5 separate regions of the Homo sapiens genome follow, and all the other regions are linked to region 3. The links are contacts of gene promoters, found by promoter capture Hi-C in human tissues and cell types (Jung and others, 2019). All regions are on one chromosome and are shown on one strand. The core of a region is centred on a gene start or on the middle of the fragment in contact, and the rest is flanking DNA. Distances in the headings are between cores, read along the strand shown. Region 1 overlaps PPP3CC (protein phosphatase 3 catalytic subunit gamma). Region 2 overlaps CCAR2 (cell cycle and apoptosis regulator 2). Region 3 holds the start of PHYHIP (phytanoyl-CoA 2-hydroxylase interacting protein). Region 4 overlaps BIN3 (bridging integrator 3). Region 5 overlaps PPP3CC (protein phosphatase 3 catalytic subunit gamma).

Evidence for each region. The method cuts DNA at HindIII sites, captures the fragments that hold promoters and counts their contacts. A contact is called where the count stands out against the background at its distance.
Region 1: a contact is called between a fragment that was not itself captured here and the fragment with the promoter of PHYHIP in region 3, in 1 of the 25 tissues and cell types used here (liver).
Region 2: a fragment that was not itself captured here is called in contact with the fragment with the promoter of PHYHIP in region 3 in 5 of the 25 tissues and cell types used here (H1 embryonic stem cells, bladder, dorsolateral prefrontal cortex and 2 more).
Region 4: a fragment that was not itself captured here is called in contact with the fragment with the promoter of PHYHIP in region 3 in 1 of the 25 tissues and cell types used here (dorsolateral prefrontal cortex).
Region 5: a fragment that was not itself captured here is called in contact with the fragment with the promoter of PHYHIP in region 3 in 1 of the 25 tissues and cell types used here (hippocampus).

The regions. Positions count from the first base shown.
Region 1 is chr8:22,515,665-22,518,364 of GRCh38, forward strand. All of the region lies in intron 6 of PPP3CC (protein phosphatase 3 catalytic subunit gamma), which reads left to right. All of the region lies in intron 1 of LOC124901905 (a long non-coding RNA gene), which reads right to left. Among named protein-coding and RNA genes, the nearest start is that of SORBS3, 35 kb to the right of the region's middle. The HindIII fragment of the contact is 3,233 bases long and covers 1-2,700 here.
Region 2 is chr8:22,613,704-22,616,403 of GRCh38, forward strand. It overlaps CCAR2 (cell cycle and apoptosis regulator 2), which reads left to right. Exons shown (of 21, transcript NM_001393997.1): 9 at 389-611; 10 at 687-800; 11 at 1,135-1,298; 12 at 1,722-1,893; 13 at 1,979-2,209; 14 at 2,309-2,545. Among named protein-coding and RNA genes, the nearest start is that of CCAR2, 10 kb to the left of the region's middle. The HindIII fragment of the contact is 7,299 bases long and covers 1-2,700 here.
Region 3 is chr8:22,230,787-22,233,486 of GRCh38, forward strand. PHYHIP (phytanoyl-CoA 2-hydroxylase interacting protein) reads right to left here and starts at 1,313. Exons shown (of 5, transcript NM_014759.5): 1 at 1,010-1,313. RefSeq lists enhancers at 1-17, 943-1,690. The HindIII fragment of the contact is 22,356 bases long and covers 1-2,700 here.
Region 4 is chr8:22,653,490-22,656,189 of GRCh38, forward strand. All of the region lies in intron 1 of BIN3 (bridging integrator 3), which reads right to left. Among named protein-coding and RNA genes, the nearest start is that of BIN3-IT1, 13 kb to the left of the region's middle. The HindIII fragment of the contact is 8,304 bases long and covers 1-2,700 here.
Region 5 is chr8:22,536,753-22,539,452 of GRCh38, forward strand. All of the region lies in intron 12 of PPP3CC (protein phosphatase 3 catalytic subunit gamma), which reads left to right. The region is part of intron 1 of LOC124901905 (a long non-coding RNA gene); the gene reads right to left. Among named protein-coding and RNA genes, the nearest start is that of SORBS3, 14 kb to the right of the region's middle. The HindIII fragment of the contact is 5,260 bases long and covers 1-2,700 here.

The sequences.
Region 1 (2,700 bases), core at 11-2,510, 280 kb after region 3:
ACTGGGTGAGATGATATCTCATTGAAGTTTTGATTTGCATTTCTCTGATGATCGGTGATATTGAATACCTTTTCATATACCTGTTTGCCATTTTATGTCTCCTTTTAAGAAATGTCTATTCAGATATTTTGCTCATTTTTAAATTGGATTATTGGATTTTTCCTATTGAATTGTTTGAGCTCCTTACATATTCTGGTTATTAATCTCTTGTCAGATGGATAGTAAAAAGTCTTTTTTTCTTTCTTCTTCTTTATTTTATTTTATTTTATTTTATTTTATTTTATTTTATTTTGAGACAAGGTCTCTCTTTGTTACCCGGGCTGGAGTGCAGTGGCACCATAACAGCTCACTACAGCCTCAACCTTCTGGACTCAAGCAGTCCTCTTGCCTCAGCCTCCTGAGTAGCTGGAACTATGGGCATGTGCCACCATGCCCAGCTGCTTTTTTTATTTTCTGTAGAAACAAGGTCTTGGCTGTTTTGCCCAGGCTGGTCTTGAAGTCCTAGACTCAAGTGACCCTCCCTACTTGGCCTCCCAAAGTGCTGGGATTACAGGGATGAGCCCCACCCAGCCAACAACCATTTTTCATTCCTCCATGCCAACTTTTCCAGTGACTAATGTGATGAAATCATTTAACTTTTATTTCTTTTTACATTGCTTAAAATAAAGAGCATAATACATATTCATTGTTGTCAGAATAGAAATTGGTACAATTTCTGTGGACATCAACTTGGCAATATCTTTCAAAGGTATTTGTACATGGCCTTTGATCCAGAAATTCTACTTCTAAAACTTAATCCTGTAGATATATAATTGATTCTCATTACTTGTGGATTTCATATTTGTGAATTCCCCCACTTACTAAGATGTATTTGTAACACCCAAATCAGTACTTACAGAGGTTTCATAATCATTCATGGGAATGTAGTGTGCAATGCAACAAAAAATTTGAGTCACCTCACTCACATGTTCCTAGCTGAGGTTGAACAAAATGATGCCCTACCTTCTTTTTGCAGCCCTCATGTTGTAAACAGGCATTCTTTTGAGTTTTATTTAGTGAAAGATGTTTTATGTTTTTGTGCTTTTCATGAGTGATTTCACTGTTTAGAATGGCCACCAAGTGTAGTGCTGAAGTGCTGCTGTCTAGGGTCCCTAAGCACAAAAAGGCTGTGGTATGTCTTACAGAGAAAATATGCGAGTGTTAGATATAAGCTTTGTTTAGGCATGAGTTATGGTGGTTTTGGCCATGAGTTCAATGTTAATGAATCAACAGTGTAAATGACCTAAAGTATTATTACACAGAAACACATCTGAAACAAGGTTATATATTAATTGGTGGGTGAAAATGTTATGACCGGAGCCTCACAGGAACTTCACCCTGTATTTCCCTTAGCAGTAGTGTTTCATTATTTGCTAATTCTGTTTTTGCAGCAACATTATAGAATGTAGCTACTGGGAATAATGAGATAAAAAATTTGACTCACCCAGCACACATGTTCCCAGCTGAGGCTGAACAAAGTGATACTCTGCCTTCTTTTATCCCAGGGATAAATCCCATTTAGCCACAGTATATAATACTTTTAGTATGTTGTTGAGTTTGGCTTTCTAGTGTTTTATGGAGGATTTAAAAATCTATGTTCATCAGAGATACTCACCTGTACTTTTCTTTCTTCTGGTGTCTTTGGCTTTGGTATCAGAGTGATGCTGGCCTCATAATGTGAGTTTGGAAGAATTCTCTCTTCTATTTTTTGGAAGGTTTAAGAAAGATTGGTATTAATTCTTTTTTTTAATGATTAATAGAATTCACCCATGAAACCATCTGGTCCTGTGCTTTTCTTTGTTGAGAGCTGTTTGATTACTGATTCCATCTCCATATTTGCTATTGGTCTGTTTGGGCTTTCTATTTCTTCATGATTCAGTTTTGGCAGGTTGTATATTTCCAGACTCTATCCATTTCTTCTGGGTTTTCCAGTGTTTTGGTGTGTGATTATTCGTAATAGTCCGTTATGATCCCTTTTATTTCTGAGGCATCTATTGTAATGTCTCCTCTTTCATTTTTTGTTTTATTTATTTGAGTATCTCTTTTTTTCTTAGTCTTGCTAAGGGTTTGTCAATTTTGTTTAGTTTTTCAAAAACCAACTCTTAGTTTTGTTGACTTTTTTCTGTTGTTTTTCTATTCTCTATTTGATTCATTTCTGCCCTAAACTTTCCTTTCTTCTGCTTACTTTGGGCTTATTTGATTCTCCTTTTTCTAGTTTCTTGAAGTGTAAAATAAGGTTGTTTAATTCAGATCTTTTTTGTTTTTTAAATCGGCATTTATTACTATAAACTTTCCTGTAGGTACTGCTTTTGCTGCATCCCATACATTTTGATATGTATATTTTTGTTTTCATTTATCTTGAGGTTTTTTTTTTTTTAGATAGGATGTTTTGCTCTGTCACCCAGGCTCAATGCAGTGGCACAATGATACCTCACTGCAACCTTGAACTCCTGGGCTCAAGCAGTCCTCCTGCCTCAGCCTCCTGAGTAGCTGGGACTACAGGATGTACCGCCATGCCCAGCTAATTGTTTTTAAAATTTTTAGAGGAGATGAGGTCTTGCTGTGTTGCTTAGGCTGGTCTCGAACTCCTGACCTATCTAGAGATAATTTTAAAATTCCTTTTTGATTTCCTCTTTGACACAATAGTTGTTCAAAAGTGTG
Region 2 (2,700 bases), core at 201-2,700, 380 kb after region 3:
CATTTCTTTAATTGTAAGTGAGATTGAGCATATTTTCCTGGCCTCTAATTCTTATGTATTTCTCTTAAGAACCTATTGATGTCAATTTTCCGTTTTAGGCTTTTGAACTTTTTGTTACTGATTTGTGAGTTCCTTTATATTAAGGCAATGACCCATTTCTCTGTCATGTGTTATAAGTGTTTTCTTTTTTCCCTTTCCCAGTTTGACTTTTGCCATCTAGAGTTTGTAAATTAAGTGGTCAGATCTGATCTAGCTTCCTTGAGAGGTGCCTTACTTCAAAAGTTCTCAGACTGAAAAAAAATTCGCCCATTTTTTCAAATCTTTGATGGTTTCATTTCGAATGTTTTAGTCTTTGCTCAGTCTGGATTCCCTTGCTGTCTTCCTGTAGCCCCATCTGTGACTTCCTAGAACTCCAGCGCCGTTACCGCAGCCTCCTGGTCCCCTCAGATTTTCTGTCCGTGCATCTGAGTTGGCTATCAGCCTTCCCCCTGAGCCAGCCCTTTTCCCTCCATCATCCAAGCCGGATCCAGGTCTCTTCTGAAAAGGAGGCAGCTCCAGACGCTGGTGCTGAGCCCATCACTGCAGACAGTGACCCCGCTTATAGTTCGAAGGTAAGCTGACAGGCGTCTCTCACTTATCTGATTTCTGGAGGCTGAAGGCAGCTCTGAGTGTCTCCTCCTGCACAGGTACTGCTGCTCTCTTCCCCGGGGTTGGAGGAATTGTATCGTTGTTGCATGCTCTTTGTGGATGACATGGCTGAGCCAAGGGAGACGCCAGAGCATCCTCTGAAGCAGATTAAGGTAAGAGCTGGAGAGCAGGAGGAGATGCATTCACGGGTAATGTGCACAACCTGTCATGTTTTGAGTGTTCGGCTCCTGTTCCTGAATGCATAAAACGAGGCATCTCAGAGCCGAACACCCCTCATTTCACCCAGGAGGAAGGTGCAGCTCAGAGCTGTTACGACTAGTCAGAGAGAGCGAGGTGGCTGGTTCATGTTTGCAGATAGAGACCTCACTGTGTGGTGGACTTCCCCACTTCCGGCTGCCTTCATCCTGATGGGTGGCAGCCTTGCCCTGCAGTGGGAGACCCAGGTAATGTAGTTTTTTGTTTTGTATCCCTGATCTCTTCTTGCAGTTTTTGCTGGGCAGGAAAGAAGAGGAGGCAGTGCTGGTTGGGGGTGAATGGTCTCCTTCCCTGGATGGCCTCGACCCCCAGGCTGACCCGCAGGTGCTGGTGCGTACCGCCATCCGCTGTGCGCAGGCCCAGACTGGCATTGATTTGAGCGGCTGTACCAAGTGGTGAGTGGGCTTCCTGAGCCTCAGCTGCACCAACGCACCAGGTTGGGGAGGTTTTGTTGGGAAGGCCCGGTCCCTGCCCCTTTCTGCTGGTTAGCTCTCTGCCCCCTAGTCCCGTTCCTTCCCCCTCTGGTGCCTCAGGGTAGGGTGGGGTGTATGCCAAAATCTGGCTGAGCCACCAGGCTGCACTTGAGACTCCCTGGAGTTGTCCTTGCACCTTGTAGGGTGCTTGTGTGGTTGCGGCCTCCCCACTGACTGATCATTTCTTGAGGACTTGGTCTGTAGCTTTCCTGTTGTGTCTTCAAAGCTTGGTTCGCAGTGTGTGCTCATTGAGTGCTGACTGGAAACTGAAGCCCTTGCCTGTGAACGTGGTGTCTGCGTGGAGTTGTCACTAAAGAAGTTAGTACCTCCTTTTGCCATGTGCAGGTGGCGCTTTGCCGAGTTTCAGTACCTGCAGCCGGGACCCCCCCGGCGGCTTCAGACAGTGGTGGTGTACCTGCCGGATGTCTGGACCATCATGCCTACTTTGGAGGAGTGGGAGGCCCTGTGCCAGCAGAAAGCTGCAGAGGCAGCTCCCCCAACCCAGGAGGCACAAGGGGTAAGGCTGTGCCTTAGCCAGCAGCGGGGGATATAGGTGGCCTAATCCCGGGACCCAGAGGGTCTCATTTCAGCTGTTGTCACAGGAAACGGAGCCTACTGAACAGGCACCTGATGCCTTGGAGCAAGCAGCAGACACTTCTAGACGGAACGCAGAAACTCCAGAGGCCACCACACAGCAGGAAACGGACACTGATCTCCCAGAGGCCCCTCCACCCCCCCTAGAACCTGCTGTCATCGCACGCCCTGGCTGTGTAAACCTGTCCCTCCATGGGATTGTGGAGGATCGGAGGCCAAAGGAAAGGATCTCTTTTGAGGCAGGTGTCAAGAGTCTTGGGGAGGCTGTGGGCTGGGATTTGTGGGCCTGAAGCAGTCTTTCTTCCTGATGCTCATGGACCCTCCCACCTCCCCATCAGGTGATGGTGCTGGCCGAGCTGTTTCTGGAGATGCTCCAGAGGGATTTTGGCTATAGAGTTTATAAGATGCTACTGAGCCTTCCTGAAAAGGTCGTGTCCCCACCTGAACCTGAGAAGGAGGAGGCGGCCAAGGAAGAAGCCACCAAGGAGGAAGAAGCCATCAAAGAGGAGGTGGTCAAGGAGCCCAAGGATGAGGCACAGAATGAGGGCCCGGCTACAGAGTCAGAGGCCCCGCTGGTGAGTACCCTGCCACCTCGGGCTGTCATAGTGCTTACCGTGACCGCGCACCTTTACCCCGGGCTCTGTTCCGAGCGCTTCCTGTGCCTTAGCTCATTCCCTGCACCCTTGCTCGGCATGGACTGAGGCCGCACAGCTAGTAAGTAGCACACCTA
Region 3 (2,700 bases), core at 63-2,562:
CCCTCTTCAATCTGTCACCTCCATGCACACCCAGACATGTTCATGTCCACAGGCTCACGCACACACACGTCCACGCACACCGCCTCACAAGCCATATGTGGGGAAAAGAGGATGCCACAGGCACCAACATGCATGTGTGCCACCTCCACAAGAAGGCACGCAACCCACACGCCTGCCGGCACACACATGTGTGTTCATACACACAGCAGCCCCCGCCCGAAGTCTGGTATTCTCTCTCGAATCATCTCCAGGCTCAAAGACAGACTTTGAAAATGTGTTTGCCTCTGGCCACACTCTGCCAGCCCTGAGCCTTCATGCCAACAGGTTTGTGCACCTACGTGGCTCTGCCCACAGACAATGGTTTCTGCCCCTTCTTCTCTTTACCCACTCCATCCTGCTCTGGGTCTCACCTCCCCATATAGAAAGCCCCTGTCTGCATACACTCCCACACACATGAAAAGGGACATGGTTACCCCTAAATATACTGCCTCATAGTGTCCCCACCCACGCACACCCACAGGCTACTCAAATAAGTCCCCCACACACATGTACCTCACGTGTGCCAGAAAGATATGTTTCTAGACATGCCTCACACCATTCAAAACCCACACATGAGCATGACTGCGGACAGACGGACCTATCTGCGCCAGCAAGCCTCCAGCCAACTCGCGAGCGCGCACACACACACGCCGCGCACACCGGTGCCCCTTCCCCATGCCCATTCAAACAGCCACCCTGCCACAGGGAATGCTTCCCCCACCCTGCTGTCCCTGTTGGCATCGCTGACTGCAGCAGAACGGTCACGGGGTGACTAACTGTGGTGCCCCAGAGACTGGATTCAGCCATTAACCACTTTGCCAAAGGCCTGGCCGGGGGGGGGGAGAGGGGACAAGGTCGTCAGGCCTGGCAGTCCAGGTGGGCACCCTGGGTGGTGGCAGGACCCTAGAGCCCCCAGATCCCGGCTACTCAGGATCAACAGCAGCAGGTTCCAGGGAGGAAGGGTACTCACCTGGCTCCACTGGGCTCTGCAGAGGAAAAGCTCGCAGGGAGGACAGGGAGAGACCTCTGCGTGGATGAGCTCCCCGGCAGGGGACAGCAGCCGGACGCCTGGGTCACGGGCAGTGGCGTGCGCTTGCTCCTCTCCCGGCTGCCAAGGAGGCTGCTTCCATGCCCCGCAGCCAGCTCCTGTCTGGCTGTGCAGCGCGTCGCTGCTGCCCCTGGTGAGACGATGTTCCCAGCTGAGCAGCGCAAGAAGAGAGGCAAGAGCGAAATCAAAGCAGCGTGGAGGAGAGAGAGGCAGAGAAGGGAGAAAGAACGAGAGAGCCAGACCGAATCTGCCTCCACCAATGGGATCAGCGGCTGCGCAGCGTCAGGTGATAATAAGCAGGCTTGGTCCCTGCTCGCCGGGCTGGTGGGAGGGGGAAAGGGCAGAGGGTCTCCCAGGGAGCTACACAGATGTCCTCAGGGACAGCAACACACGCCGCCTTTCCCCCATTCTTCCAGGACAAGCTGCCCTCAGAAGTCCCTCCAACACACCCCCTACTTGGAAATCTCTGACTTGAATGCAGCCCCCAAACTTTAGGATGCTGGGAGAGGGGTGGAGCTTAGCCAAGGGCTTGGGCCCCAAAGCAAAGACTCTGATTGGGGGAAGGGGAGGGAGGCTGTAGAGGGGAAAGGTCCAGATGGGGGGTGTGAAGCTGGGGTGGCTGTCTTCAGTCCGGAGCCTCTCCTTGGGGCCTTTTGGTGAACTGTGGTTCCATTTTCTTACCAACTCTAGAGAGAGATGGCAGACCTGCAGCTCAGGGATCCCTGTGGGTCTGGCAAGAACCCTCTGGCAGCTTGGGGGTCCACAGGAAAAGGGGCTGGGAGAGAGGCTGTGGCACAGTGCAGGGTGCACAGGGGTAAGAAAATGGGGGTGGGAGAACACACCAAGCTCTGAGTGTCCTCAGCCCACCCCACTCTCTGAGCACAAAGGAAGCCGGCCCTGGGCATCTTGGGGAGAGAATGTAATTCTGCTCTCACGGCAGCAGGAGGCTGTTCTGCCATCAAGAAGCAGACTCCGTGGAGGCCATCGGGAAGAACATCCAAGGAAATGTGAGTCCAGCAGCAAGCAGGGACAGAGGGTTGCGCAGTGGTGAAAAGCACAGGCTCACAGTCAGATGGATGTGCTGAGAATCCCTGCTCTACTGCTACCCAGCTGGGGGACCTTGGACAAGCCACTCAACCTCTCTTCATCTGTCAAGTGGGATCACACAGGTTTATTGTCATCATGGAATGAAATAATTAGGTAAATCGCCCAGCCCTGGGCCTGGCACATCAGAAGTGCCAGTCACATGTCAGAACTGTTCTTGTTCCCATCATATCGACAGCATCTTCCTGCAAGGAGCCCACAGTCCTCTACGGGAGAGAAGATGGCCATTTAGAGGATGCAATTAGAGAATGAGGAGCACACAACTAAATCGTAGGGCACAGATACTCATTCAGAGAAAGAACAATGGGCGGCTCCAGGGCACGTGCAGGGTGCAGGCCAGAGGAGGCTGTGGAAGCAGGAGTGCGGCTGGGGTGGGGAGGATTGGCACGGGGGCAGCTGACACCAGGCAGGCCCAGGGTGAGGTCTTGGTGAGCAGGAGAAGGTGTGAGCTGAGCCTAAGAAACACTCACCAAGAGGGAGTTGAGGCGGCAGGCCTCAGTGCAAAAGTC
Region 4 (2,700 bases), core at 111-2,610, 420 kb after region 3:
ACCACAAAAGGTAACCGTTACACATTTCCAACTCAGGAGCCTGTGATTTCTTGTTTTACTAACATTTTCCAAAGATGTCTTTACAACGTACAGTTAAAACAGTATACTCCCAATTCACCCTTCCTTAGTTCCATCCCCCAAAAAAGCCTGGGCTACCCCAGGATTGCCTGACATGAGGGATAGTATGAAGAAGTAAAAGCAGGAATGAAGACAGAGGTTTTCCTAACTCGCTGCAATGTAAACACTTTATGTTTCAGTTTACCACAACATAGGCATGCCTAGGGTTCCTTCCAGGGTCTTGGGAAAGGTCCATTTAAGTTGGGACCCTGAGGCTGAAGCTTTGTAAGTTTCACACCTTAAATCCACCTTTGTGTCCCCTGGTACAGAATTCTTTGGAGGTGGGGGTTGGGGTGTAGGACTCTTCATTCTTCTGCTAGGGTGGGGTGGGGTGGGGACAGTCTCCCAGTGATAAGCAGTTAGGGAGATGTTAGGGCTCTAAACTATTCATAGTTTTCAACCAATCACCCTGATCTCAGCCCTTGGCTTCACCTAACTTCTAGAGGTACTTAGTACCAACTCCCAAACCTTTGAGAATTCTGGGATGTAAGGTGGGATGGCTCTTGGTTTTCTCAAACGCCAGTTTGGGACTTGACTTTCTTGGAACTAAGTCAGTTACCTCATGTAACTGCACCCTAATTCCCAAATTTTGTTGTTGATGTCTCTTCTATTCTCCCTGAACTATGGATTTATGCCTTAAAAAACTGCTTTACTGTGCTTTTTGTAGGATTTGTGAGGGAGATAAATTAGATGTATGTATTCAATCTGTCATCTTTACTCAGAATCTGGTTTATTTTTAAATAACATACCATAACATTCACCCTTTTAAAGTGTACAATTTGGGGTTTTTAGTATATTCCCAGAATTGTGCAAAAATCACTGCTATCTAATTTCAGAACATTTTCATCACACCAAAAAGAAACCCCACACCTATTAGCAAACAACTCCCCTCCTCCAGCCCTGGCAACCATTACTTTGCCTTCTTTATGGATTTGCCTTTTCTGGACATTGCACAGAAGTAGAATTATATTTGTATGTGGCCTTTTGTGTCAGCCTCCTTCACTTAGCAAAATGTTTTTGAAGGTCATCCATGTCATAGCATATATCAGTACTTCATCCTTTTATTTTTTTAATCACTGAATACTAGTTCAGTGTATGGATTTATATTTTGTTTATCCACTTATCATTTGATGGACAATTGGGTTGTTTTCCCTTTTTGGGTATTAATGAATGCTGTGACAAACATTTATGTTCAAGATTTTGTGTGGATATGTTACTTCTCTTGGGCATATATCTAGGAGCAAAACTGCTGGGTCATATGGTCACTCTATGTTTAACCTTTTGAGGATGTGCCAGACTGTTTTCCAAAGTAATTGTATCATTTTACATTCCCACCAGTGGTATATAAGGGTTCCAATTTCTCCACATCCTTGCCAACACTGTCTTTTTCATTTTAGCCATCCTAGTGGGTATGAGGTAGTATTTCTGATGTGCATTTCTCTAATGACTAATGACGTTAAGCGTCTTTTCATGTGTTCATTTGTATATCTTTGGAGAAACATCTATTCAAATCCTTTGCTCATTCTAAAACTTTTATTATTATTGTTGTTGAGTTGTAAGAGTTCTTTATATATTCTGGGTATTAGCCCATAATCAGAAATATTTTCTCTCATCCATGGGCTGGGTTTCCACTTTCTTAATGGTGTCCTTTGAAGCAGAAAGTTTTAAATTTTGATGAAGTCCAATTTATCTGTTTTTTCTTTTGTTGTTCATGCTTTTGGTGTCATATGTAAGAATCCTTTGACAAATCCAAGGTCATGAAGATTTACTCTTGTCTTTTCTTCTAAGAGTTTTATAGTTTAGCTCTTACATTTAGGTCATTGATCCATTTTGAGTTAATTTTTAAATATGGTGTGAGGTAGGGGTCCAACTTCATTCCTTGGCAAGTGGCTATCCATTTGTCCCAGCACTGTTTGTTGAAGATTATTCTTTTTCCGCTGAACTGTTCTGGCATCTTTGTTACAAATCAATTGTCCATATATGTAAGGGTTTATTTCAATTCTATTCCATTCATCTACATGTCCATCTTGATAACAGCACCACACAACCTTCATTACTGTAGCTTTGTAGTATTAAGACTGGGGAGTGTGAGTTCTCCAGCTTTGTTCTTTGTCAAGATCATTTTGACTATTGTGTGTCCCTTGCATTTCCACGTGAATTTTAGTGGTTTATTTTTTATATTTAAATCTTTGCTGCATTTAGAGTTTGAGTGTATGACTAGTCCATTGTTTTAACATAGTTTTTAAAAATTCCACCTTTGAAAAGTTATTTTATCAGCATTAAATGCATCTACTATTCCATACCACAGAGTAATCTACCCTTTTGCCAATAACACAGATTTATTTAGATGTATAAAAGTTCCTGATACTTAGCAAAGCAAATCCCTTCTCATTAAAAATTTTTTTCCAGGTAATTTCTTGGCTGTTTTAATTATTCAAGATAAATTTCACTAGCTGTGTGCTCTCACCCCCACACCTAAAAACCCCTGATAAGGATATTACCAGAAGTGCAATATATTTATAGATTAACTTTTGAAGATCCTATTTTTGGTTTGCTCATTCAGGGCCATATTTCTTTTCATTC
Region 5 (2,700 bases), core at 24-2,523, 310 kb after region 3:
TGGAGCATTAACTAAAAAAGACCTTTTATTGTTCATATAACTTAACTTGGAGAGCTTTCAACCAACAGTATCCCATATGGCCATGTAACATACATTCATGTATGTCTCACCTTGATCTAAGAGGGATTGGCGTGAGTTACAGTATACATGAAACATAGTGGAGTAAAATAAATATGCTTGGAAATTGAAGCACAAAGGTAAATAAAAATAAAGCCAATAGCCACAAATTTGACTCTAAGCATCCCAGTAGCCAAAATAGTGGGGAAAGCCAAGGACAGGACAAGATTCACAAAGACCATCAGATTAAAACAGATCAGTTATAAATTGGACTACATCAAAATTAAAAACTCTGTACTGCAAATGGTACTATCAAGAAAATGAAAAGACATCCCACAGAATGGTTGAAAATGTTTTCAAATCATATATCTCCTAAGAGATTGGTATCTAGAAAATATACTCTTACAACTGAATAAGAAGACAACCCAGTTAAAAATGGGTAAAGAATTGAATTGACATTTTTCCCATGAAGACATACAAATGGCACATGAAATGATGTTTGACATCATTAGACATTCAGAAAATGCTAATCAAAACCACAATGGGATACCACTTCACAGTCAGTAGGATGGCTGTGAAAAGACAGCAGTTAATAAGAAGTGTTGATGAGAATGTGGAGAAATTGGGACCTTCTTAACACTGCTGGTGGAAATGTAAAATGGTACAGCTGCTTTGGAAAACATTCTGACAGGTCTTCAAATGATTAAACATAGAATTGACTTATTACTCAGCAATTCCAGTCATAGCTACATACCCCACAAAGAAATGAAAATATGTCCTCGCAAAAACTTGTACACAAATGTTCATAAATGGCATTCAACATAATAGCCAAAAAGCAGAAAAAAGCAATTGTCCATAAACTGGATAAACAAAATGTGGTAAACGCAATGGAATACTATTCAGCCATAAAAAGGAATTAAATGCAGGTATACATGTCAACATGACTGAACCTTGAAAACATTATGCTAAGTGAAAGAAGTCAGTCACTACAGACCACATATTATATGATGCCACTCATTTGAAATGTCCAGAACAGACCAATCTAGAGAGAAAGTAGATTCGTGTTCAACCAGGATTAAGGGGAAGAGGTGAGGGAAGGAAATGGGAAGTGAGTGCTAATAAGTGGGGGATTTCTCATTGGGGCAATGAAAATATTCTAAGCACAGATTGTGGTGATGGTTGCACAGCTCTACTATATTAAAACCATTGACTTGTATACTTTAAACAAGTGAGTTTTGTGGTATATGAATTCTATTTCAGTTAAGATGTTAAAAAGGAAAACAAAAGTTCGGGTCATTTGATATGACTGTTTCTTATAATGGCCCTTACTGCAGGCTGCTATCTTTATACCCAATGTGAATAGCAATTCTGGGAGGGCCCCAAACAAGGTAATATCATACACATTTTACCGTGTAGCTTTTAAGCTCTAATTAGACCAACACTCAGTGTAGAGTTTCAGCAATGCTTTGTTCTCCCACTTCCTAACAGTTACATCAGTGATGTGCTGTGAGAAGGCACTGTAGCTTTCTTGTCAAGGGTATTTGTTCTACTTAAGGAGATTAGAGAGGGTGTGACAGTGATTTAATACATGCCTGCCTATGGTTGACAAATGAAAGCACTTCATAAGTAGATTTCAGTTATCCATTTTTCACATTCCATTAGGTAGTTAATGTAGTTCTTTCAGTTTCTCTTCTCATATTGATATATAAAGCCTTGGGAATAGCAGCAAACTGTTACTGCTCATTATTCTTCACTGCCTTCTTTTGGCAAATTGGTACTGGAGTAACTGACAGGGTTCTCCTAATAGGATCTTTCTTGTGGCACCCTGTACCTTTTCATATATTAGCGTTTTTACTGTCTGAGAAAGGAGATGCAAGGAAGTTTACCTGTTGGTACTAATTTTTAAGTTGCTTCCTTTTCCATTGCTAAGAAAGAAGAGGGCTTTCTTAGTTACTGGCCAACTCTCTTGAACACTGTATGGAAGCCATATGGATTGGAAACATTAGCCTCTGCTATATTTTTATAGCAGATGGGTACACACATTTGCATTAGGAATTCAATAGTTCTATGCTTTTGTTAGCTTTGTACTCCACTCCTGGACAAGAAATAACCCTTCACATGGAACCTATTTTTCTCTCCTTCCAAATGCCAGTCTGCTGTTCAAAGGCCACTCTTTTTTTTTTAAATGAAGTAATTAATAGGGCAGTTGGACTCCAAATAAGTCACTTGAGAGCAGTAAGATGTAGTTGTAAATAAGCTTTTTGAATAGGACCCAGCAGTAGCTCATTTAATATCACCTGAGATATTTTACAAACTAAGGATTGTTGTGATGTCAAACTATTTGATTCTACATGTTGTTTCGATACGTGGATATCAAGATATAAAGTAGCAGTTGGCTACCTAAAATGAAAAGAGCAATGTTCCATGGCACCTGAAATGTTAAAAATATTAGAAACTCTCCCCCACCCCATATTCCTCCCACCCCAATTGAGTCTCTCGCAATAATCTTCTCGCTTCTCTAACTAGTTGACTTTCATTATGGATGGGGATAGGCTAAAAAACGGGCCCCTGGGATGGCTGTGCTGCCATCAGTGCTGTTGGTTTACTCACTCTTTTTCTGTCTTCGTTTTTGCATGCTACTGC